Linked DNA regions of Homo sapiens: all the other regions are linked to region 2. The links are contacts of gene promoters, found by promoter capture Hi-C in blood cells and fetal thymus (Javierre and others, 2016). All regions are on one chromosome and are shown on one strand. The core of a region is centred on a gene start or on the middle of the fragment in contact, and the rest is flanking DNA. Distances in the headings are between cores, read along the strand shown.

Region 1 (4,177 bases), core at 154-2,653, 150 kb after region 2:
TTTGAGACAGAGTCTCACTCTGTCAGCCAAGCTAGAGAGCAGTGGCACGGTCTCAGCTCACTGCAACTTCCGCCTCCCTGGTTCAAGCAATTCTCCTGCCTCAGCCTCCCGAGTAGCTGGGACTACAGGCACCCGCCACCACGCCTGGCTAATTTTTGTGTGTATTTTTAGTAGAGACAGGGTTTCACTATGTTGGCCAGGCTGGTCTCGAACTCCTGACCTCGTGATCCACCTGCCTCGGCCTCCCAAAGTGCTGGGATTATAGGCGTGAACCACTGTGCCCAGCCCCAAAAAATATTTTTAATAAAAAATTGGGACACGGCAGGTGCAGTGGTTCACACCTGTAATCCCAGCACTTTGGGAGGCCAAGGTGGGCAGATCATTTGTGGCCAGAGTTCAAGACCAGCCTGGGCAACATGGTGAAACCCTGCCTCTACTAAAAGTACAAAAATTGGCCAGGTGTGGTACCACAGGCCTGTAATCCCCACTATTCAGGAAGCTGAGGCAGGAGAATTGCTTCAACCCGGGAGGTGGAGGTTGCCATGAGCCAAGATCACACTACTGCACTCCAGCCTGGACGATAGAGCAAGACTTCATCTCAAAAAAAAAAAAAAAAAATAGGACAAGCCATAAAAATAGAAGTCTACTTTAGCATTGAGGATTTCTGTCTCCTTGTTCACATTTATTTTTGAGACCTTGCCAAAGCACCCCATGGATATGCTTACCAGAACTTATTCCAGAGGGGAAATGTAGCAGGCAAGTTTCCTTGGCATTTATGAAATGAACCACGCTAGTTCTCTCAAGAGGATTCTCACACAGAATTCTGGCTCCCAAACAATTATTTTCCAGCCATGACAATAATCTCATGAATAACACAAAAACGTCCATGATGGCAACAGAAAGTAGGAATGAAAACACATGGGGCTCAGGGTCAAAAGACTTTGGGAGGCCAAGCACAGTGGCTCATGCCTATAATCTCAGTATTTTGGAAGGCTGAGGCGGGTGGAGCATCTGAGGTCAGGAGTTGGAGACCAGTCTGGCCAACATGGTGAAACCCCTTCTCTACTAAAAATACAAAAATTAGCTGGGCATGGTGGTGTGTGCCTGTAATCCCAAGCTGAGACAGGAGAATCGCTTGAACCCGGGAGACAGAGGTTGCAGTGAACTGAGATCGCGCCACTGCACTCCAGCTTGGGCAACAGAGCGAGACTCTGTCTCAAAAAAAAAAAAAAAAAAGAAAGAAAGCACTGAGAGCTCCAAATGTAGCATGGAACAGGACCTTCTAGAAATTGCCACAGGCAATTATCTCCCCACTGCATGGCTACAGAGCTTCCCTGATAACGCTCACAACACCACCATCCAAAGTTTCCTACCAGCTTTCGGCAAAGAGGTACACCTGAAAGTTTACAGGGGCTGCCTGCTGTAAGGTTTCAGAGTCATTAGATATGGACAAGGCATAAAGAATTGCTTTATATACACAGCATTTGGATAACATTTGTCCCCGTGATCCACTGATGAGCAATTACTTGGCTTATGTGGGATCTGTTTCATAGTTTAAGTTCCCTTAAAAGAATCAACAACAGAGCCTTGCATAGAGTATTCAGAGGGCCTCTCAATTAGTCTTTGCCACCAACATCCTCCTGTTCAAATCGTTTCTTCATGCTGCCACTAAAGTGATCTATGGGAAGGGGAGAGACATAGGTAAGTCAAGTCAAGTTGGAGGAATGGCCATGTAAGTTTATTTCCTCTGCCTCCTATTTTCAACCTAAGTACAGCAAATGACTTTTTTAAGGGGTGAAGACACAAGAACAAACACTATGGGAGTGAATATAGCAGTGGGCAAGAGAGCCCAATAATTTTCTAGACAGTGGATAAAGGATTAATAACTGACCAAGAAGAGCATAAGAAACTACCCCTCAAGTGCCTGCAAAGGGAGACAGTGAAGAGAAACAAGCTGATTTGCCTTGCAAAATCCCACAAGGGCTCCGAGGCACAGAGAAGACTGAGAGGTGGGTTAGTTAAAAGACTGTCAAGTTCCCACACATACACACACACCCTGCCCAACCAAGTAAATACAGACACACATATATGGATATACCAGAAGAAACCAGATGTTTATTCTCTGGATAAATAAAAATGACAATTTTTTAATTCAATAGCGCCAGGCACCATGGAGATGTATGAAACAAAAAAATAGATTTTGAGTTAAAAAAAAAAAAAAAAGACAGAGCTCACTCTGTCGCCCAGGCTGGAGTGCAGTGGCGTGATTTCGGCTCACTACAACCTCCGCCTCCCAGGTTCAAGTGATTCTCCTGCCTCAATCTCCCAAGTAGCTGGGATTACAGGCGTGAGCCACTATGTTCAGCTAATTTTTGTGTTTTTACTAGAGATGGGGTCTCACCATGTTGGCCAGGCTGGTCTCGAACTCCTGGTTTCAAGTGATCCACTGCCTCGGCCTCCCAAAATGCTAAGATTGCAGGCTTGACCCACCGCGCCTATACTAATATCTTTATACTGAATTTACCCTGGTACTCTTTAACCTACGAAAGGAGAACTAAGCTCTTTACCCTAGTACTATTTTTAAAACAGCACACCTTTCAGGAAAGTTTTCACTCTGAGAGAAGCCAAAGTAAATGGGGGGTTGGAGGGAGAGAAAACCAAAGCAAAGGAAAACAACACAGAGAGCACAGAAGTACTTCTAAAAATCTATAAAATAATATTGTCAGAGATATAGGAGAAGATAGTATATCCATGAAGCATGAACAGGATGCTGTAAAAAAAAAAAAAGGAACAGAGTACAGAAATTGCTTTTAAAAAATTAAAAGTAGGATAGCCAAAATAAAAAGTTTCATAGCGAGGTTGGTGAACAGAGTTGAGGAAATCACCCAAAAGGTTTAAAAATAAAAAAGTGAGATGAAAAATAGAAGATAAAAGATAAGAGAATTGGAGAGTCAATCCAGGATATTTCATAAAGAAGGAAAAAATAAATGACAATAAAAAAAATATTAAAAAATAATTCAAGCAACTTTCCAAGAACTATAGGATATGGATCTCCAAGAATGAAAATATCCACCAATGGGCTTTTGATTTACAATGAGTTTTTTTTTTTAATGCCAAGCTTTATCATCATGAAATCTTAGAACACTGGTGATAAAAGACTTTTCTAAGAGCATCAAGAGAGAAAAAGCAAAGTTGAAGTCAAATTAACACATGACTTCTCAACAGCAACAGTGGATACTAGAAAACCATAAAGCAATATTGTCAAAATTCTGAGTGAGACTAGAATTTATAGCCAGCCAAACTATGAATCAAGCATAAAAGAAAAATAAGGACATCTTCAGACCAGCAAACCCAGAAAGAGCACAACATAGCTGCCCAAAAATAGTGGATATAATATTGATGAAAAGTCCCAGAAGACAACTGTGCAACTGGCCAAGAAAGCAGCCTGTTCAGCAGGCTCTGAAAGGGAGGACATCAAGGAAAAGAAGAAACTGGAGTGAGTGAGTGCATGGAAAATGTTATTGACAGCTACGGAATAAAACATTGGAGCATTTAGAGGAAATATTAATGGTGTCATAGTTATCTAGTAAATGAAAACTAAGGCAACTTTTAATACTCAGCTAAACAATTATACTAGAAAAGAAGCATAATTATATTATTTGGCTTGATAGTGAATAATAGTTGTGTAGTAATATGATGTAAACATTAACTACTAATTTTACTTTTTTAAAGTGTGATATAAGCATGTCGAGAAACTGATGAAACTGAATGAGGCAGGAAGAGAACTAAATTCTTATCTACTATGCCTGTAATCCCAGCACTTTGGGAGGCTGAGGCAGGAGGGTCACTTGCGGCCAGGAGTTCGAGACCAGCCATGGCCAACATGGTGAAACCCAACTCTACTAAAAATACAAAAAAATTAACCAGGCATGGTGGTGCATGCCTATAATCCCAGCTACTCAGGGAGCTGAGGCATGAGAGTCCTTTGAACCCGGGAGGCAAAGGTTGCAGTGAGCCAAGATCGCACCACTGCACTCCAGCCTGAGCAACACCAAAAACAAAAAAGTCATGATTAAGTCTAAAATCACAAGAAATAGTAGTTTACCAATATTATTTAGAAAATAGATGTAAATACCAGGAGGACAGCTGGAAGAACTAAAGGTGGTCACCTATAGAG
Region 2 (4,214 bases), core at 1,142-3,641:
TTCAGATCACAGAGGAACCTGGTTTTGAACACTGTTCTCTTTGCTGGGAAGAAGAGATCTTAAAAAGGGATCCTGCAAAGGCCTGTTCCAGAAAAGCACACAGGATTAGGATTTGACTGTGCCTGCAGCGATATTGAAAACTAAAACTTTAGCCAAATTCCCAGAGATACTTCTAGTGTATCCCCTGATGTACTGAACAGTGCTGGGCAGATAGTAAGTGTTCATTAAATATGTGTTGGCTGCTGATTGTTAATCTGGGCAAGATGTTCACAGACATCTGAATATTTAGAAGACATTTGGATACGCAGCTGAAGTTTACAGTTTTCACGTGGATGTTCTTTTAAAAAGCTGAAGAAGGGAGATGATTGCCAAATGTATTATCTCTATCTCGAGTTGCTAAGGCTCACAAAGTCTCCTATTTCCAGCAGAGAGAAAAATGCTTAAAACTAGATTCATCAGCAACCTGAAGAAAGCCAAAAGAAGCAATCTTAAAGATCTTTTTAGTATCTTGATCATTCAGTAGAATACTACAGTGCTAAAGACTCCAGATGCCACACAGCTTGTTTCTTTGCCCATATGTAATGTACATTTACAATCACATGTACAAAGGCATATTATGCCAAGAGAAAAAGCAATCCACTGCATATACATGCTATATCATAAGTATGATTGTGTTAACCACTTCCTCCCTAATTTCCTTATGTGAAGTACTGTTTTCTTGGTCAATAAGCCCCATAATTTACAAAATATACAGATCCTATTCAGTTGAAAGAAACATGCATATGTGTTCACCAAACAAAATATTTTCTCAATATTCTATTTCTTATTGTATATAAACAAAAATAAACTAAGCAAAAAATAAAACTCTCCTAATACTTTAAGAATTTGTTTTTTTAATTTTGTATGTCTTGCAAATTAAAAGATGATTAATTTATACATTATATGTCTAAGAAGTAGGAGAATTAATGAGATTAGCACAATACTGGATAAATATTATTCATAAAAAATGTATTAAATACATAAAACATAATAATTATTTAGAAATTTCTCAGTCCTTTTTATAATTTTGAAAGCTTCCTGGTATTACACAACTGATGGATGGGGTTATAGCATGTGTTGCTTCTTAATAATAGCTCTTCATAATAAGATCATGAGATATCTATACGTAGAGTATTTTTAAATCATCATTCTTTTTATTCTAAACATTTTTAAAATGTTAAATATTTTAAACTAGTTACTATGTTTAAAATAAATTCTACAAATGCTTAACTACATTATTTAGCTAAAATTTCAACCGACGAAGTTTTTCTTTAAGTGTACAAGTGGTCAACCTCATTCTTTACAGACTTCCAGTTTTTATTTTTCTCTATTGTTATTTTTCCTTGTCTTAACACCATCTGCTATTTTTCCAGATGACCAAAACCTTTATAAAGTCAGATGAGGTTTGTTTTATGCTTCAGGGGACCCTCTTTGAAGAGTGAGTTATTTTGTTAGATGACTTAAGCTCACTCTATTCCATAAAGTGCATTTGTGTTTATCAGAAATATTTGATCTTGAGAGTGGCCCTCCATCCTGTGGACCCTTTCAAGATCAAAGAATCACTAAATCTGGGGGCTAGAAACCATTCCAAGAGGTTATCTAGTGCAGACCTTTGTAATCGCTGCCTCGCAGAGGAGAGAGCACCTAAGCCATCCTTAACAGATTACCTGTCAAGTTTCTAAAGTTTTCCAGAAAAGGAGCCAACACAATCTTCCATTGCAGCTTTCTTTTTGCGATCTCCTAAGGCAACGAGTAAAATGCCACACTTCTTTCTGTGCCTTCCTGCACACTGGTTTCAGTTGCTACTTGGAGCTATCCTTCAGTCTCTACCCATGACAATACCTGTGTGGTGCCTTGTCAAGAATCCACCTGCCTTTTCCCTCTTACTCTTGAGGAGCAAAGCCACCTCACCTCCCAAGCTGGCTAAAAGCTCTCAGCATGCCCCGGGAGGGGAGAGGTAAGGGGTCACTCTTTACCTTTGCAGATACCAAACTCTTCACCAAAAGGATCCTCCCCATTAGAAGGCTGACACCTCAGCCCCGGGCCACACTTCATGCCATCCATGCCTGAGACTGTGCGGTAGCAAGTTTCTCCCCGCCCTGCAGCGCACACTCGGCAGCAGCCACAGTCGTCGAGCACTGTCCTCTTGCAGCGCGGGCTGCTTTTGCACTCACTGCTGTCACAGTGTTGAGGGCAGTCCACCGCATAATTATTGCTCCAGGCGGCCACCAGGTGTGCAGGCACGAGGAGCGTGGTCAGCAGCAAGACGCTCTTCATGTTTCCCAGCTGCCTCCGGCTCGGCTCTCCAGTCGTGGTCTTTGCTGGTGGGAAGCAGCCGTCCAAACTGGTAGCTGAGCCTCTGCCTACACGTTTATGAGTTTTATACACTGGGTTGCCCGCATGCTTTCCCGTCATCAATTTCCTCAACCCAGCAGCAGCGCTGTCCTCCTGCCAGGCTCTCTTGTTTTGGTTTATGAAATCCAGGATGAAGGCTGGATTAACACGCTGCTGCCATCCAGGAATTGAAAAGCCCAAGCTGATGTCATCTGTTATGTTTAGATGGTTGTTTTGCATGAGGACTGAAAAACTCACTCACATCCGTCTCAAGGGCTCAAGGACGTCTGTGAAGGAGGGATAAAGAAGGTTGCACACCCTCCTTCAGGACGGGAATTGTTCTGACCCTGGCATATCACTTGAGGTGTAGCTTTGTCTCAGAGCCTCTGTAGTCAGGAGGAAAATGATATCAACATGAATCATCAGGACCGAAGAAGCTTCTTCAAAAAAAATAATAAACATTTGGTATTTCCCCTCAACAAATAGCTATGAGATCATTTGAAAGAAGAAAGGGTTATATTGTGTCTTTTCAATACTTAGAAGAAAGAAAATATTTTGATAGGGCTATTTTTTAAGACCCTCTCTTCCTTCCTCTCACCCCTCTCCTCAAATGTTATTTCTAAAGCAATTCATGTTACATATATCTAAGCCTATTGTGGATATAGCTGTGCTTCCAGTACAATGTGGAACTGCCTCTGAGAATTTCTTTTAAAATCAATACAAAAAGCCACAAGAGAGGTAAGATCCTTTCGGCACTGCTTCTGGGTTACTCAATTCTGGAAAAACTTATCAGTTGGACTTCTGATCCAAAACTTCCTCAGGGGAAGGCTCATCCATCACTAAGTCTGCTTGTCCAATGACGGAGTCCACCCAGAGCCCTTCCCCTCACCTCCTGGCATCTATCAGAGCCCTCACTAAAAACTGCCAAGCGCGGCAGCCAGCCCAAGGCAACAAGTGGCTCAGCAGGAAAATCAGAACACAGCCCCCAAGAAACAAGTCACAGGGAAGGGAAACATTACCCCTCAGGAAACAAGGTCTGCATGCTAAGAGGGTTACCGTGCCTAGGTCCCTCTGGGAAAACAGAGTAGCCCTCTTAAAATATCAACTGTGCCAGGGTCTTATTAAGTAAGGTTAAAGAGGAGAGAGGGGAGTTCTTACACCAACCACATGCCGAATTCCATGCCCCCACCTCACTTGTCAAAAGAGATATAGACTCACTGTCACTTAGTAAATAACAACCCAGTAAAGTGGGTAATTCTTGGTCTGTCACAAATGAGCTGTAAGAAATTCACAGGACTTCTCTTGGCCTCAGCTTCCTCTTTTGAGAATTGATGGTGTTAGGCTACCTGACCTCTAAAATTCTTGTTTCCCATAGAAGATGAGGCAGAGCGGGCATTGGATGTAACTTGAAGATCGGCTTTTGCAAATGCAATTTTAGGGGGACACAGGGAGTAAATTCAGAATACAGAGAATTGAGGCAGTAGGAAATGAAAGCAAGAGTTTTAGCTTTCAAATTTTCCAAATTTTTCATGACAATCCAATTTGAAATACTCTATCTCCCCAGAAGCACTTACTTAGCAGGTGGCACACTCTGATGTTTTCAGTAATGGGTAATATTTGTTGAGTTAATAGCTTAAACACTTTACATGCATTAACTCATTTGCACCTCATCACAATATTATGAAGTGGCTGCTATTATCATGCTTATTTTTTAAAAGAAGAAACTGAGTAAGAAAGAGGTTAATTTGCCTAAGGTCCCTATATTGAAGGGATGGATGTTAGTCTAATGTCAGAGCCACATATTCTATTGCCTATTACAATACATAATTGTGCTTTCATGG
Region 3 (4,223 bases), core at 625-3,124, 140 kb after region 2:
GTATCCCCAGCACCCCAAAAAGTACCTCCCACATAATAGATGCTTCATAAATAAATAATCAATAAGTAAACCTCAGGGATTGGCCAGGAGGCCAGGTGAGTGAACAGAGGAAAAAGACGGGATATATAATCAGAGTTCTACAAGAGATTGGATGCCGGTGCCCTGTTCTTGCATCGACCACCAGTTTTGTCTTCCTGTTTCCCTGGGCTGGGTAGAGGAGATACTCTACTCACCCTTGAGCCCCCTTTAACATTCTAGATGCACAAAAGAGGATTTAAGGCCCAGAGGACAGGGCCTGGGTCTTGCTCCCCATCATGGGGTCTTTCTCTCAAGAAGTACCCAGTAAAAGTTTGTAGAACGAAGCTGAGAAGAGTAGTGGTCTACCTTGAAAGGGCAGATGTTCACAGAGGAAGCTCATGGTCATTAGTGGCCTCCTGACACATAATGTCTTGCCCTTTCAGATCGCTTTATCTTCCACCCATTCTACACCGCTGGTTTTTCTTCAAAATAAGATGATTTGTGATGCTAACTCGAGTTCAAAAACTGCCCAAGATCACCACTCCATCATTCATATACATATGCAAGGAGGAGATGACTTAATTTAAAGTGATGAACAATCTTAGGCAAATTCAGAAACATTCAACTATACGCTCTCTGAGGTAGGGTGGATGTAGGACTTTTTCCTCTGATGAAATGTGTACTTAGAAAAACCAGAAGGATAAAATCTTTCATTCAGGGCTTTTCCCCCCAACAACAGCTCACTTTGCTATAGGTGCATGGCATTTTACTCACCCATTTGCTTACCAAAAAACCCACCTGACCTGGACACAGTGGGACAGGTCCACACAGTCACATCATTCTTGGGAGTACCTTGACCAGTTGCAATCTCCTTTGTCTTAGGTAGCCAGATTAAGGAACAAATCTGTAATAATGATCAAAAATAGAGAATTCTTGCAATTTCTGATTCCTTATGAATATAGTTAAACTGGTTACAGGCAGTATGCACTGTCCATGACCCAACCTCCAGTACAGCTGGGGTAGGATGTTAAAGAAATTACAACCATTCTAGGAAAGTTTATCCCAAGGCAACAAAGGATCAAGTATACAAATAGGCTTAGGTGCAATAAATTGAAGAATTTAAGTGAACTGTGATCATTGGCCAGGAAGAGCCAGATTACTCTCAAAGTTCATGGTCAAAGCAGTGATGGGGAAAGAAAGGAAATGTGAAAAAAAGAAAACACAAATTATATTAACTTTGAACTCACAAATGAAGAGGTTTTTACAATAAAAAGAAACTCTTGAGAACTCAAATTCCTTATGGACTCAATAGAGAAAGAGAGCTTGTTGGGGGCATAGGCTCTGTTGTAAACTATTTTCACAAGATTCCAGAAGATCAAAATGAAGATGAAGCCCAGAGGAGATATTAACCTGTGAGTTTGTGCTTGGGGTCTGGATGCTCTTCCCAGCATTTATATCCAAGATGTGTAAGCGTCCATCCTTCATTCCTCCTCCAATGGCAAGGACCCCAGACTGCCAGGGACACCAATCCATGGCCTTTAAAGTTTCACATAATAGCACAGACAGGTCAGCTTCAAAGGAGGTGCACTCATGAATGTGATGCACTTAGGTAAGCAGCAAGTCCCCACGTCTGCACCTGTCACAGCTCTCCTGGGCCTGCTATCTAAAGGCAGGAGCAACTGCACCCTCCAGAGATTATTCCTCAGGGACTAGCAGTCACTTCTGGAAGGGAAGGTACCTAATACGACTCAAATCAAATTGTTATCAAATGATGATAACAATTGTGGATTTTTTAACATAGACTATGCAATAACAGTTGAAAAACTACATGCAATACATCCTATGGGGCAAAAATCTGCTGCTGGGATAGTTCACATGTGCCCTTGCAAATTGGCTCTGAAAATGCAGGCTTTCTCTGATTTGTCTACCTGTGTCCTTATGTTCCAGGTAGTGGTCAGATAAGAGAAAAGAGAACTATATGTGATTGCTCACAACTCAACAGTCTCAAGCACTTCAAATCTTAAAGCAGTTCAGAAAATAAAATTGCCTTCTATTTATTTATAATTATAGTTAATTCTAAAAAATAGGATTTAGTATCACACATTTATATTGATAATTGAAATTACTAATAATAATCACTTTAAAGGACATTTTAACAAATACTACAGTTATATGTATCTGTGTATCCTTATCAATCATCTTGGTAACTACCCTCATTTTTGCATCCTCTCTTCTACACATAAAAATATTTTATAAAGTAGCAAACATCGTGTTTATACTATTTGATTATTTTCTGTTGTTTTCACCTATTGTATAAACAGTTTTCCACGTTTTAATAGACTTTTCACAATTATAATTTTTAACAATCCCATAATATTCCATCGTGTCGTTATATCCTGATTAATTTTTGTTCTGCTAATGCTGGACCTGTTTTGGTTTTTTGTTGTATTGTGGTTTGATTTGTATTGGGTTGGGTTAATTTTTTTTGGAAAGGAGTATTTTTTTTGTTTTTGTGCGTGTGTTTTATTTGCTGTTTGCTCTCATAAAGTACATTGTAATGAATACATTCTACATGTCTTTTTTTCTGACAAATTTTTTAAGTAAATTCCAAGGTTCAAAAGAGTTGACATAAAGTTTTCCAAGCAGTTATAACTTTTTACAGCACCAGCATCCAATGAGTATACTAATTTCACCCTGGCTAAAGGTTACATGAAGTTAAAAATGTTATTTTACATCTAGTGAAATTAAAATCATTACAAAACAGATTATAAGGGTAATTTATTTTCTTCTTAGCAAGAATGAACTTTTTTCTGTGTATTTATGTTCCTCTAGCACTTCCCACCATGTGGATTTTTTGCCATCTAAGCACCTACATCTTAACGCTTTTCTTACAAGTTTGAGTCCATTTTTTAAAAACATACATCTGAATATACAATAGTTGCTCTCATTCTTCATTTAACCAACTTGCTAAATTTACCAAAGTTCTCCACTCCTTCTGTAAAACATACTTACTCCTACCCATAGCATGCTAGTCTTCTGTTCTCTAGAATGCTCCACACTTCTACTCCCACTAATTAAGCTGTGGGTTTATAGAGCCCACTGTGTTTTGCCAAACCTGTTTATGACAGGTGAACTTGTTATTATAACTGTGATTTCATCAAATTACATGTAAATGTTTAATTAAATCACCTACTTTATTTGGACTAAAGATGACTGTTACTTCTATGAACTAAATTAAACAATTTGGAAGTCTTTTCTCTTTTTTTTTTTTTTAAGACACAGTCTCACTCTGTTGCCGAGGATGGAGTGCAGTGCTACCACAAAGGGTCAATGAAGCCTCAATCTCCCTGGGGCTCAAGCGATCCACCTACCTCAGCCTCCCAAAGTGCTGGGATTACAGGCATGAGCCACTGCACCTGGCCTCACTCTATTTTAAAGATTCTGCGGCAGATTGTATTTTCCAAAGATAGCTACAACACTGTCTTTCATCCAACAAGTCCTTCTGAGCCTCGCCCATTCCCTCCATCAATAGGTACAATCTAATTCCTCTACCTTTGAATGTGGGACTTGTGACTATCCTGGAACCAATAAATGTGACAAAAGTGACACTGCATGAATTGCAAAATTAGGTTATATTAATAAAAGGTGTTAACGCTTTCACCTTGCTCTCTGAAGCACTGGACCTATTGCCCTGAAGCACAAACTCCCAACTGGCTTGAGGCAACCATGTTGTGAGGAAACCCAAATCAGCCCACACAACATGAAGATGCTCTGGAATTACAAGAAGGAGCATGCCCAGGCAGCTGGCAAACAAGTGGTCCAGCCTCCCACACTTTTAGCTTCCGATGCTGTCTGACTGCAACCTCATGAGTGATCCTGAGCCAGAACTGCTCAGATGACATTTTCCCAGAATCCTTACCCAGGAAACCATAAAAGATAATGAAATGATTATTGTTTTAAGCCACTAAGTTTTTGAGTAATTTGTTGCACAGCAATAGATAACCAGACAGATACTATAAACAGAAACCTTGAACAATGAAATATGGTTATAGTTCATACAAGAAAGACAATGAGGAATTCTCATCAGCCTACCTACACTCAAAGTAGAGGTCTTGGTCTCATATGGTGAATTAATGTACGGTTTAATAAATCTGGTGAATGTAATGTTTTCAGTCAAAATAAAATATCTACAATATATATCATAA

What was found. The method cuts DNA at HindIII sites, captures the fragments that hold promoters and counts their contacts. A CHiCAGO score of 5 or more calls a contact.
Region 1: a fragment that was not itself captured here is called in contact with the fragment with the promoter of ESM1 in region 2 in 2 of 17 cell types (endothelial precursors and activated CD4 T cells); the score reaches 6.0 in endothelial precursors.
Region 3: a contact is called between a fragment that was not itself captured here and the fragment with the promoter of ESM1 in region 2, in 2 of 17 cell types (activated CD4 T cells and non-activated CD4 T cells). The highest score is 5.6, in activated CD4 T cells.

What each region holds. Positions count from the first base shown.
Region 1 is chr5:55,135,959-55,140,135 of GRCh38, forward strand. The region is part of intron 5 of CDC20B (cell division cycle 20B); the gene reads right to left. Among named protein-coding and RNA genes, the nearest start is that of GPX8, 22 kb to the right of the region's middle. The HindIII fragment of the contact is 3,425 bases long and covers 1-3,116 here.
Region 2 is chr5:54,983,202-54,987,415 of GRCh38, forward strand. ESM1 (endothelial cell specific molecule 1) reads right to left here and starts at 2,392. Exons shown (of 3, transcript NM_007036.5): 1 at 2,016-2,392. The coding sequence starts at 2,316. The HindIII fragment of the contact is 1,737 bases long and covers 1,072-2,808 here.
Region 3 is chr5:55,118,997-55,123,219 of GRCh38, forward strand. It overlaps CDC20B (cell division cycle 20B), which reads right to left. Exons shown (of 12, transcript NM_001170402.1): 10 at 1,429-1,554; 11 at 805-922. Among named protein-coding and RNA genes, the nearest start is that of GZMA, 18 kb to the left of the region's middle. The HindIII fragment of the contact is 7,419 bases long and covers 1-4,223 here.